Regions from separate parts of the Homo sapiens genome. Here regions 1, 2 and 3 are each linked to region 4. The links are contacts of gene promoters, found by promoter capture Hi-C in blood cells and fetal thymus (Javierre and others, 2016). All regions are on one chromosome and are shown on one strand. Each heading gives the region's core, a stretch centred on a gene start or on the middle of the fragment in contact. The rest is flanking DNA. Distances are from core to core; before and after follow the strand shown. Region 1 overlaps PBRM1 (polybromo 1). Region 2 overlaps UQCC5 (ubiquinol-cytochrome c reductase complex assembly factor 5). Region 3 overlaps GNL3 (G protein nucleolar 3). Region 4 holds the start of ACTR8 (actin related protein 8).

Region 1 (2,700 bases), core at 82-2,581, 1.2 Mb before region 4:
TATGTGAACCAGGTGTTAAAAAACAAAATGAAACAAAAAAATTAAATAATTTAAAAAACATGCTTCACTCTCGGCCAGGTGCAGTGGCTCATGCCTGTAATCCCAGCACTTTGGGAGGCTGAGGCGGGTGGATCACCTGAGGTCAGGAGTTCGAGACCTGCCTGGCCAATATGGCAAAACTCCGTCTCTACTAAAAGTACAAAAAAAATTAGCCAGGCATAGTGGTGTATGCCTGTAATCCCAGCTACTCGGGAGGCTGAGGCAGGACAATTGCTTGAACCCAGGAGGTGGAAGTTGCAGTGAGCCAAGACTGTGCCACTGCACTCCAGCCTGGGCAACAGAGTGGGACTCCATCTCAAAAAAAAAAAAAAAAAAAAAGCTTCTTTCTCAAGGAATTAGAGAAAAGAAGAGCAAACTAAACCCAAAGCTAGCAGTAGATAATAAATAGAAAGGAGGGCCAGTGCAGTAGTTCATGCCTATAATCCCAGCACTTTGGGAGGATGAGGTGGACAGATCACTTGAGGTCAAGAGTTTAAGACCAGCCTGGGCAACAAAGTGAAACCCTATCTCTACTAAAAATACAAAAATTAGCCAGGCATGGTGGCACACGCCTGTAATCCCAGCTACTTGGGAGGCTGAAGCATAAGAATCACTTGAACCTGGAAGGCAGAGGCTGCAATAAGCCATGATCACGCCACTGCACTCCAGCCTGGGCAACAGAGCAAGACACTGTCTCAAAAAAAAAATATATATATAGATATATATATAGAATGCAGATAAACGAAATTAGAGAATAGAAAAACAATTTTAAAAATTAAACAGTTGGTTTTTTTAAAAGATCAACAAAATTGGTAAACACTTAGCTAGATTAACTAAGAAAGAAAGAGCTGAGCACGGTGGCTCACGCCTGTAATGCCAGCACTTTGGAAGGCCAAGGTAGGCGGATCACCTAAGGTCGGGAGTTTGAGACCAGCCTGACCAACATAGAGAAACCCTGTCTCTACTAAAAATACAAAATTAGCTGGGCGTGGTGGCCCATGCCTGTAATCCCAGCTACTCGGGAAGCTGGGGCAGGAGAATCGCTTGAACCTGGGAAACGGAGGTTGTGGTGAGCCACAATCGAGATCGCACCACTGCACTCCAGCCTGGTGCGAAACTCCATCTCAAAAAAAAAAAAAAAAAAGAGAGAGAGAGGCTGGGTGTGGTGGCTCACACTTGTGATCCTAGCACTTCGGGAGGCCAAGGTAGGAGGATCACTTGAGCCCAGGAGTTTGAGACCAGCCTGGGCAACACAGGGAAACCCTGTCTCTACCAAAAAAAAAAAAAAAAATATATATATATATATATATATACACACACACACACACATATATCTCCTTACCTAACATTACATACGTTATTTTTTAATATGTATGTAGCGTTAGGTAAGAATCCAGCATATTTTTACATATATAAATAAAAAATACGTTATATATACAATATATATATTTTATGTGTTTACTATATACATACACACGTATATATAACATATATATTAGCCAGGTATGGTAGCATCAGGTGAGAGGACTGCTTGAGTCCGGGAGGTTGAGTCTGCACTGAACTGTGATTGCCACTGCACTCCAGCCTGGGTGCCAAAGCAAGATCCTGTCTCAAAAAAAGACAGAAAGGAGGAGGGAGGGAGGGAAGAAGTAAGGGAGAAAAGAGATGCAAATAACTAAAATCATAAAGAGGAGACATTACAACCAATGCCACAAAAATAAAAAGGATTATGAGAGTTCTAGGAAAACATGTATGCCAACAAATTAGATAAACTAGAAGAAATGGATAATTTCCTAGAAACACACAACCTACTAAAGACATACAAAGCCTGAGTAAACCTATAACTAGTAAGGAGACTGAATCAGTAATAAAAAATCTCCCACAAAGAAAATCCCTAGACTGATAGCTTCACTGATGAATTCTAACCAGACATTTCAAGAACTAACACACCAAGCCTTATGAAACTTTTCCAAAAAATTGAAGAGGCGAGGTCACGTCCTAACTTATTCTATGAAGCTAGCATTACTCTGATACCAAAGCCAGACAAAGATACTACAAGAAAACTACTGATCAATATCCCTTATGAATACTGATGCAAAATTTCTCAATAAAATATTAGCAAACTGAATTCAGCAGGATATTAAAAGGATTATATACCATAACCAGGTGGGATTTATTCCACAGTGAACAAGGTGTTGAAGTGGTGAAAGTGGGCATCTCTGTCTTGTTCGTGATCTTAGAGGAAAAGCTTTAAGTATTTTGCCACTGAATATGTTGTTCACAGTAATCAAAATGTGTGCTACTGGTATAAAAACAGACACAGGGACCAATGGAATAGAATGGAGCCTAGAAACGACCCTCACATACACGGTCAAGCAAATTTTGACAAAGGCGCCAAAACCATTCAATGAGAAAAGCACAGTCTTTTCAACAAACGATACCGGGAAAACTGGATACACACATATAAAGAATGAAGCGGGGGCCGGGCGCGGTGGCTCACGCCTGTAATCCCAGCACTTTGGGAGGCCGAGGCGGGCGGATCACGAGGTCAGGAGATCGAGACCATCCCGGCTAAAATGGTGAAACCCCGTCTCTACTAAAAATACAAAAAATTAGCCGGGCGTAGTGGCGGGCGCCTGTAGTCCCAGCTACTTGGGAGGC
Region 2 (2,700 bases), core at 121-2,620, 1.3 Mb before region 4:
CAGTGCTGTGAGAAGGAAGTGGGAGGAACATAGGACTCTCGGGTGGGCGCCTCAACTGGACTAGATGGTGCAGGGAAGGCTTCCGGAAGCAGCTACCAAGTAAAGTAGGACCTGAAGACTGAGTAGGTGTCAGTCAGATGAGGGGAAGGTGTGTGGAATTGAAAGCATCTCCATGGCAGTGGTAGGAGCACTTGTGTGAGAGTATGCTGTGTGTTTGAGGGATTGAAGCAGATCAACAAAGTGGGGATGGCTAGAAGGGTGCCTGGGCAGGGTGGCAAAGGGACTGGAGAACCAAGAATGGATCCCAAGGATTGAGTCATTTTAGGGAGAGGCTTTAACATGTGGAGAATGGCTCCTTGTGGACAGATTGGTAGGAACAGTTACGCTGTATGGCTGTCCAGAGTTGAGACAGTGGCCTGGTCTAGGTTGGGGCAGAAAGGATACCAAGAAGGGATGGAAGTAAAAGACAGCCCAGAGGTAGTACTGACAGGGCATGGTGATTAAGTGGACTCAGGAGATGAGGAGTGGAGGCTTCTGGTGGGACACCTGGGGCAGGGGGTAGTGCATTTCCTGAAGGTGCCGAACACAGGCAGGGCCATCCTGGGCACCATCTGGGACGTGACGAGGTAGATATGGTTATACAGAGCTGAAGCTCAGGAGGCAAATCTGGGCCAGAAATTGGGATTTGTGAACCATTCAGAAGCAAATTATGATGGAAGTCAAATCCCAACATTTTAATTTAATTTATTTATTTTTTGAGACTGAGTTTCGCTCTTGTTGCCCAGGCTGGAGTGCAGTGGTGCGATCTTGGCTCACCGCAACCTCTGCCTCCCAAGTTCAAGTGATTCTCCTGCCTCAGCCTCTGGAGTAGCTGGGATTACAGGCATGCACCACCACGCCCGGCTAATTTTGTATTTTTAGTAGACATGGGGTGTCTCCATGTTGGTCAGGCTGGTCTAGAACTCCTGACCTCAGGTGATCTGCCCACCTTGGCCTCCCAAAGTGCTGGGATTACAGGCGTGAGCCACTGCGCCTGGCCCAAATCCCAACATTTTAAGGGTAACTGAGAATGGCCAGAAAGGCAAGGAGGGAAACCAGGAGGATTTGTTATCACAGAAGACAGGAGGTTAAATACATCTGGCTCTGTGAAGGGGAGGTAACCCCCCTTCCTCTAGGAGAGACTGCAGGATATGCAAATAATGATCTAGAAGGAGAGGGTGGAGAGAGGCTGGAGATACTGGACCCTTGAGAGGGTGGGACCAGAGCTGGGTGACAGGAGTAAGCCCTTGGAAGTTAGCTGGAAGAGTTCCTTATGATGACTTTCCTCTGTGAAGGAAGAGAGGAAATGGCCATTTGGGGGTGGGTGAAAAAGAGTCAGGATGATGGCTGAGGAAACAGGATTGTCAGACACCTCAGTGGACCCAGTTAGAGGCATCAGTTGGCCCCTCAGGACACAGCAAGCAGGGTGAAGCATGGGGAAGGGAGGAAGTTGGATTAATCTGTGGTTGGGGTTTTGAGGGTGTGTCAGGAAGTTAAGATATTGACAAGAGTATGAAGGAATTTTAGCTGATTTGCCAGGAGAGAGAACAAGAAGCGGCTGAGCGGGTAAGACGGGGCCAAGGACCTGGGGAAGAAACGTGAGGTCCAAGGACAGGAGGGCTGGAAAGGTAACGGGGGTTGTGGTATGAACAGAAATCCTTCAGAGGAGCCCTGCAAGTGACTGGAAGATGTTGAAGGTGAAGGGTACTGGAGCTTCATCCCCATGGGTAATGGTGGTATCTGGGGAGAAGGCACAGGACAGGGTCAAGGAACCTGAGCCAGAGGCCAGCACTTTTGGTGACTGAAGGGGCATGATGGAGAGCAGGTGCCAAAGAAAGATGGTGGCAGACAAATGGCATGAGCCATGAAGGAAGAAGATTTTTTTTTTTTTTTTTTGAGACAGAGTCTTGGTCTGTCACCCAGGCTGGAGTGTGGTGGCACGATCTTGGCTCACTGCAGCCTCTGCCTCCTGGGTTCAAGCGACTCTCCTGCCTAAGCCTCCTGAGTAGCTGGGACTACAGGTGCCTGCCACCACACCCGGTTAATTTTTGTATTTTTAGTAGTGACGGGGTTTCACCATACTGGCCAGGCTGGTCTCAAACTCCTGACCTTGTGATCCGCCTGCCTCGGCCTCCCAAAGTGCTGGGATTACAGGCGTGAGCCACTGTGCCCGGCCTGGAAAGAAGATTCTTTACATGAAGGTGGCGAGTCAAAGGTCTGGCAAAGCAGCAGCTGGAACAAGGAAACTGATCTCCTCTCCCCACCTGAAGGTTTCTGGATATGGGAGAGGGAGCATCAGAGAGCCAAGAGGCAAGAAGTGCCTTTGAGGAGCCAGGTTTTAGTTAAGAAGGATGACTTCAGAGCACAGAATAGAAATTATGGGGGAGAAGGAAGTGAGGGACATCTTAAAACACTAAGAGATGTGCTAAGACATGATTCTATCTTTCAAGACACTGACTTTTACCCTATTTAAGTCTAGAACTCCATTATCATAGTCCTCATCTAACTCAAGTTTTGTTTTAAGTTTATTTTGGCATTGAGTTAAATATTAATGCCAAGATTCAGAAGTAGGTGACAGACCTAGACTATTGGTTAAATTATTCAGATTGTTTTAATTTTAAATATGTTTCTTAAACATCTGAGCAACTTTTTGTTTGATAC
Region 3 (2,700 bases), core at 184-2,683, 1.2 Mb before region 4:
ATGGAGGCTGCCAGTGCCATCCTTTCCCAGGCTGATGCTCGACAGGTAAAAGGACCCCTTCTCATGAGCTCCTTGGAGCCATCTTCTTTCATCATAAGCATTTTGAGTAGAAAAATCTTGGAAGTGTTTTAAAGTACTGGCATGTCAGATGAAGGACAGCTCCTTTGTTTGGTTTTTTTTTTAAGGTAGTACTGAAATATACTGTCCCAGGCTACAGGAATTCTCTGGAATTTTTTACTGTGCTTGCTCAGAGAAGAGGTATGCACCAAAAAGGTGGAATCCCAAATGTTGAAGGTGCTGCCAAACTGCTGTGGTCTGAGTGGACAGGGTAAGCTTTCTTTTCTGTTGGCATTTTGGTGACCACTAGAATAAACCTTCTTTTGACACATCTTATTTTTAATATCAGTGCCTCATTAGCTTACTATTGCCATCCCCCTACATCTTGGACTCCTCCTCCATATTTTAATGAGAGTATTGTGGTAGACATGAAAAGCGGCTTCAATCTGGAAGAACTGGAAAAGAACAATGCACAGAGCATAAGAGGTGAGAATTGTGTGTCGCTGCTGTCTTCATCAGCTGACAGGCCAGTGGAGCTCTTACCTGTTTACATGGGCTTGCTTTCTTTCCCAGCCATCAAGGGCCCTCATTTGGCCAATAGCATCCTTTTCCAGTCTTCCGGTCTGACAAATGGAATAATAGAAGAAAAGGACATACATGAAGAATTGCCAAAACGGAAAGAAAGGAAGCAGGAGGAGAGGGAGGATGACAAAGACAGTGACCAGGAAACTGTTGATGAAGAAGTTGATGTAAGTGTGTCCTCCATGAGTTAAAACTGAAGTGAGTTTTCTAGCATTATAATACATAATGGAAGGAACTGAAGATAGGAAATATTTGAGGCTTGTGATCCATTAGCCTTAATTTTGCACATCCCGTTATATGTACCTCCAAAGAGTTAATTTTTCAGGTACATAACTACTTGGATTAAATGAGCAGACAAGGGCTACTAATCCAGCACTATTTTTCTTTGTCACACAGGAAAACAGCTCAGGCATGTTTGCTGCAGAAGAGACAGGGGAGGCACTGTCTGAGGAGACTACAGCAGGTGAGGCAGGCAAAAGGGGTTCTAACGAAGCAGCATGGTATAGAATCACTTTTACTTTTTGAAAATCTCTTTATTTTCCTGCAATATAGGTGAACAGTCTACAAGGTCTTTTATCTTGGATAAAATCATTGAAGAGGATGATGCTTATGACTTCAGTACAGATTATGTGTAACAGAACAATGGCTTTTTATGATTTTTTTTTTAACATTTTAAGCAGACTGCTAAACTGTTCTCTGTATAAGTTATGGTATGCATGAGCTGTGTAAATTTTGTGAATATGTATTATATTAAAACCAGGCAACTTGGAATCCCTAAATTCTGTAAAAAGACAATTCATCTCATTGTGAGTGGAAGTAGTTATCTGGAATAAAAAAAGAAGATACCTATTGAAAAATGTAAGTTTTATTTACAGATCAGGCCACAGGTTACAAAATTAAAACCAACAGCAGTTTTGAATTATCTGTACCAGCTAGCTGAACTAGCCATATCAGTTCTTCTTTCCAGTCATTCAGCATTGTAGTAAGAAAACACTTGGTAAGGCAGATGGAGACATATTTATAGTCTATAGTCTGTCTGGGAAGCTGACTGCCAGACAGGGCAGTTTGTCATCTTTACCTAGCTGACACATCTTTTTCCATGGCTTGCTACCGATAGGCATTGAAGCCTAGCAACTGTTACTTCCCACGCATGCTATCTTCCAGGACTTCCTGAGAAATGCTTGCTTACAGTTCAAATTCTGTTTCACTTTATGTTTGAGATCTCGGTATATCTTCGGATTAGGTTGAATTTGCCTGTTGGGTCTGGAATATACCATTTTTCCCAAACATCAGTATATGAAGCAGTCCTTCCCCATGGCTTCAAATGTCCATTCCAATGGAGTAACTTGGCAGCCTTTACAAACTGAGGTGAATATCGTTTTCCAGCACTGGAACCTTACATTTGAGACAAAAATAGCCACATCGTTGCGCCATGTGAAATTGTGCAGAAAACTTACTTAAGGGAAACAAAGAATATACCCCATCCCTGAGGATAGTTCTTTAGATACCAATTCTTTACTAGCTTATGCCACTGGTTAATTCTACTTACCAAGGTGGCGGACATTCCACATAGGATCGATGGTAGAGTGCTGTTGATAAAATACGATAAGCAGAGGAGGTGTTGTGATGCTACCAGCCAGGGTTCTGCTATACAGTCCCTCTCTTGGTGGGACAGAAAACAAATGTTTGTTAGTGAAAAGTACTGACTAACTCCTGTTAGTCAAGACTCTAGGAATTGAAATACAACAGTTTTTCACAGCTAGGCCAGTTACATACTTACTCTACATTGAGTTTCATCCATTTTTCCAGTTGGTTAGTTATATTCTGTCGTTTCCATTCCGTCAGGTTTGCAACAAAAACTCCAGGATTAAATGAGCAAGTGCTGGCTTTCATGGAAAGCTTACGAATTCTTTCCTTTTTATAGTCAAGATAGCCAATGTAATTGTACTAAAAACACAAATAGGATATATGTACTTACTGCTTCAAACAAAATAGATACAATTTTATAGCCAGTAGAGAGAAGAGCTGTTAAACTGACTTCTTCAGATTAGAAAATAAATA
Region 4 (2,700 bases), core at 129-2,628:
TTCTTCTTCCCTGAGATTCCCTCCTCCCTCTGGTTAGCTCCTAATCACCTTCAGGACTCTAAACAGATGTCACCTCACCTCCTTTGAAGAAACCCTCCCTGACTGTCGGGGATGGAGGAGGTACTTGCTTGAGTGCCCAATACTGCCCTCTGCACAAGCCCATTCCATGCCATGCTCTGATACCTGTTGTCCTATCTCCAAGTGTGACCTCTCTCCTCCTAATCACCCCCCACAGAGTGGGAGAATCCTAGAGGGAAGGATCTGGCAAGGCCCTTACAGACCATCCAGTCAGCCTTCTCAACTAGACAGATGGAGAAACCAGGCCTGTGCAACAGTAATGGCCACTCTGGGCTTACGGTGTGCCAGGCACTGTCATACTAGTGATAACTAACTAGTAGCTGCCCTACTAGTTAGGTATTATCCTTAACCCATCTACCGGTAAGGAAGCTGGATCAGAGATGTCCTACATGAATTTCTGAGCAGTTTATGCCTCATTTCTTCTGTGAATTGTACACTGCCTGTGCCCGTTTTCCTACGTGAATGCTGTTTTAGTTACTGATCAGTAAGGTTTTGTGTATGTGTATACATCTAAGGTCCTCTGCCAGGCACGCTACTGCAAATAATTTTTTCTGGTTAGTTTAGTTTGGTCTAATAGTGTTGTTTTTGATACACAAGCTCTTAATATATATTTAGACAAATGTCCACCATTTCCTTGCTTTTAAGCTTGAAATGACTTCCATTATCTGAGATTTCCTTAACAAAGGAAAAAGCCTGGACCCCAAACTATCCCTTAACAAGCACAGGCTGACGCTCCCAGTGAGCCAGCCTGGTCCTAAACTCTATCTGCCACCATTTAACCCTCACGGCAACTTGCGAGGCGGCTGGTTATCACCGTGGTCGTTTTATGGTCGGGGAAGCTGAGGCCAGAGCCCGGGCAGGAGCGCACACAACCAGACGGTGGGGCGTGCGGGAGATCGGAGCGGTGTCCCTGCGGGGGCTCCGCCTGGCTCCTGGCGCTCCGCACCTCCCAGCCCTCGGCGTCCCGGCGCGCCACCACCCGGAAAAGAACGACCGCTTCCGCACTCCCCCCACCAGGGGCTGGGGCCTGCAAGGGGGACTCGAAGCCTCCCGCCGCCTCCCGCCCCTTGCCTGGCAGCGGAGGACCCAAGCAAGGGCAAAGAGTTCCAACCCAGCCAGAGCCGCACCTCTTGCAGCGACTCCGGCACCAGCGCGGGCACGATGGGCCGCTTCACGCCGCGCTGCTCCTTCTCCTTCTCGCCGCCCTTCTCCTTTCCGTTCTCCGTATCACCCTTCTCAGCCTGGGTCATTATGGCCGGAGACACCCACCAACCTCTCGCCTCAGCGCTGCAGCCACGACTGCCGGGATGGAAGGGCCACCGCGCAGGCGCACGGCCGGCTGCCCACAGTCAAGATGGCCGCCGCGGAGTCGCCCCAGAGGGCTCCGAAAAGGCGGGGGTGGGGCTGCCCGGCGCAGGGGCTGGGGGCGGGGTGTGCATGCGGATTGATTGGGTGGGTGTTGCTGTGATTAGTCCTGACTGTGTAGATGCCAGCAACATAGTACACATAGCTTTTCGAGCGCCTAGTGGGGGTCGGCTGATAACCCGCATCTTATTTCGTCCTCACAGGCATCTCTTCTCCTGGCTTCCCAGATACCATATGTACTCTTAGTTTTTCTCATATGTCTTCATGTTCAGTCCAGCCTCTGATGTTGGGGTTAGGTCTTTTCCAGGCACACTCCTTGGGTGACTATCCAGTTTCCTGGCTTTAGCAATGAATACGATTCCCAAATATATATATCCAGGATGAACCGCTCAGAGAGATCCGTACTGATAACCAGTGCCTACTTGGTCTCTCCATCTGGATTGTCTACAAGGCACTGCAAACTTAAATATGTCCAAAATTTAACTCTTGATTCCCTCCCCTCTCACTTTCACCATCTCAGTAAATGTCATTTTGATTCTTCACTTGTTGACAGCTTCTACATCCAATCCATCAGTAAATCCTGCAGTCTCTAAAATAGATCTTGAATTCATCCACTTCTCCATTCCCATGCCACTACCTAGCCCAAGCCACTATCATCTCACCTGGATGACTACAACAGCCTCTTAACTCGAACTCCTTGTCCTGTCCCCCTATGATCTGTTCTTATATAGTTGCCCACGTTGTTTTAAAATATTACGTAGTTAATACTACTATGTACCCAGCACTCCACTAAGACTTACCTCAAAAATTAGATGTCACTCATGCTTTAAACTCTAATGGTTTCCCTTTGCTCAAAGAACAGAATCTAAACTAACCACCACCTAAAGACCATATCTAGTTATTGCTACATTTCTAAGTTCACCTCACAACACTCTCCCCATTCCTTGGCATTTCCAGCTACACCTGTTTTATCTTTCTCAGACATGCCAAGCCCTTCCCGTCATCGGGCTGTTGCACTTGCTGTTCATTTTGCCTTGGATGCTCTTCCCTCAGCTGTCTCATTCTCACGTCTGAACTCAAATGTCACCTCAGGCCTTCCGCAGTTATTCTCTCATCATCCTATTCCCTTTGAAGCATGAAGCATTAGTCTGTAATTATCATGCCTGCTCACTGTCTCCCACACTAGAATGTAAGCTCCGTGAGACTTTGCCAGTTATCTTCAGCACATGGTAGGTGCCCAATAAGCATGTGATGACT

What was found. Contacts are between HindIII fragments. The CHiCAGO score rates a contact against its expected background, and 5 or more counts as called.
Region 1: a contact is called between a fragment that was not itself captured here and the fragment with the promoter of ACTR8 in region 4, in 1 of 17 cell types (neutrophils). The highest score is 7.8, in neutrophils.
Region 2: a fragment that was not itself captured here is called in contact with the fragment with the promoter of ACTR8 in region 4 in 1 of 17 cell types (neutrophils); the score reaches 7.7 in neutrophils.
Region 3: a fragment that was not itself captured here is called in contact with the fragment with the promoter of ACTR8 in region 4 in 1 of 17 cell types (neutrophils); the score reaches 6.6 in neutrophils.

What each region holds. Positions count from the first base shown.
Region 1 is chr3:52,673,315-52,676,014 of GRCh38, forward strand. All of the region lies in intron 3 of PBRM1 (polybromo 1), which reads right to left. Among named protein-coding and RNA genes, the nearest start is that of PBRM1, 11 kb to the right of the region's middle. The HindIII fragment of the contact is 1,908 bases long and covers 378-2,285 here.
Region 2 is chr3:52,537,722-52,540,421 of GRCh38, forward strand. The region is part of intron 1 of UQCC5 (ubiquinol-cytochrome c reductase complex assembly factor 5); the gene reads left to right. Among named protein-coding and RNA genes, the nearest start is that of UQCC5, 2.5 kb to the left of the region's middle. The HindIII fragment of the contact is 7,688 bases long and covers 1-2,700 here.
Region 3 is chr3:52,693,002-52,695,701 of GRCh38, forward strand. It overlaps GNL3 (G protein nucleolar 3), which reads left to right. Exons shown (of 15, transcript NM_014366.5): 10 at 1-45; 11 at 186-328; 12 at 407-543; 13 at 631-806; 14 at 1,036-1,102; 15 at 1,192-1,496. The coding sequence ends at 1,274. GLT8D1 (glycosyltransferase 8 domain containing 1) reads right to left here. Exons shown (of 10, transcript NM_018446.4): 8 at 2,420-2,586; 9 at 2,189-2,301; 10 at 1,485-2,034. The coding sequence ends at 1,844. Among named protein-coding and RNA genes, the nearest start is that of SNORD69, 1.6 kb to the left of the region's middle. The HindIII fragment of the contact is 2,205 bases long and covers 332-2,536 here.
Region 4 is chr3:53,880,774-53,883,473 of GRCh38, forward strand. ACTR8 (actin related protein 8) reads right to left here and starts at 1,379. Exons shown (of 13, transcript NM_022899.5): 1 at 1,206-1,379. The coding sequence starts at 1,328. RefSeq lists silencers at 1,006-1,115, 1,506-1,595 and an enhancer at 1,266-1,345. The HindIII fragment of the contact is 9,111 bases long and covers 722-2,700 here.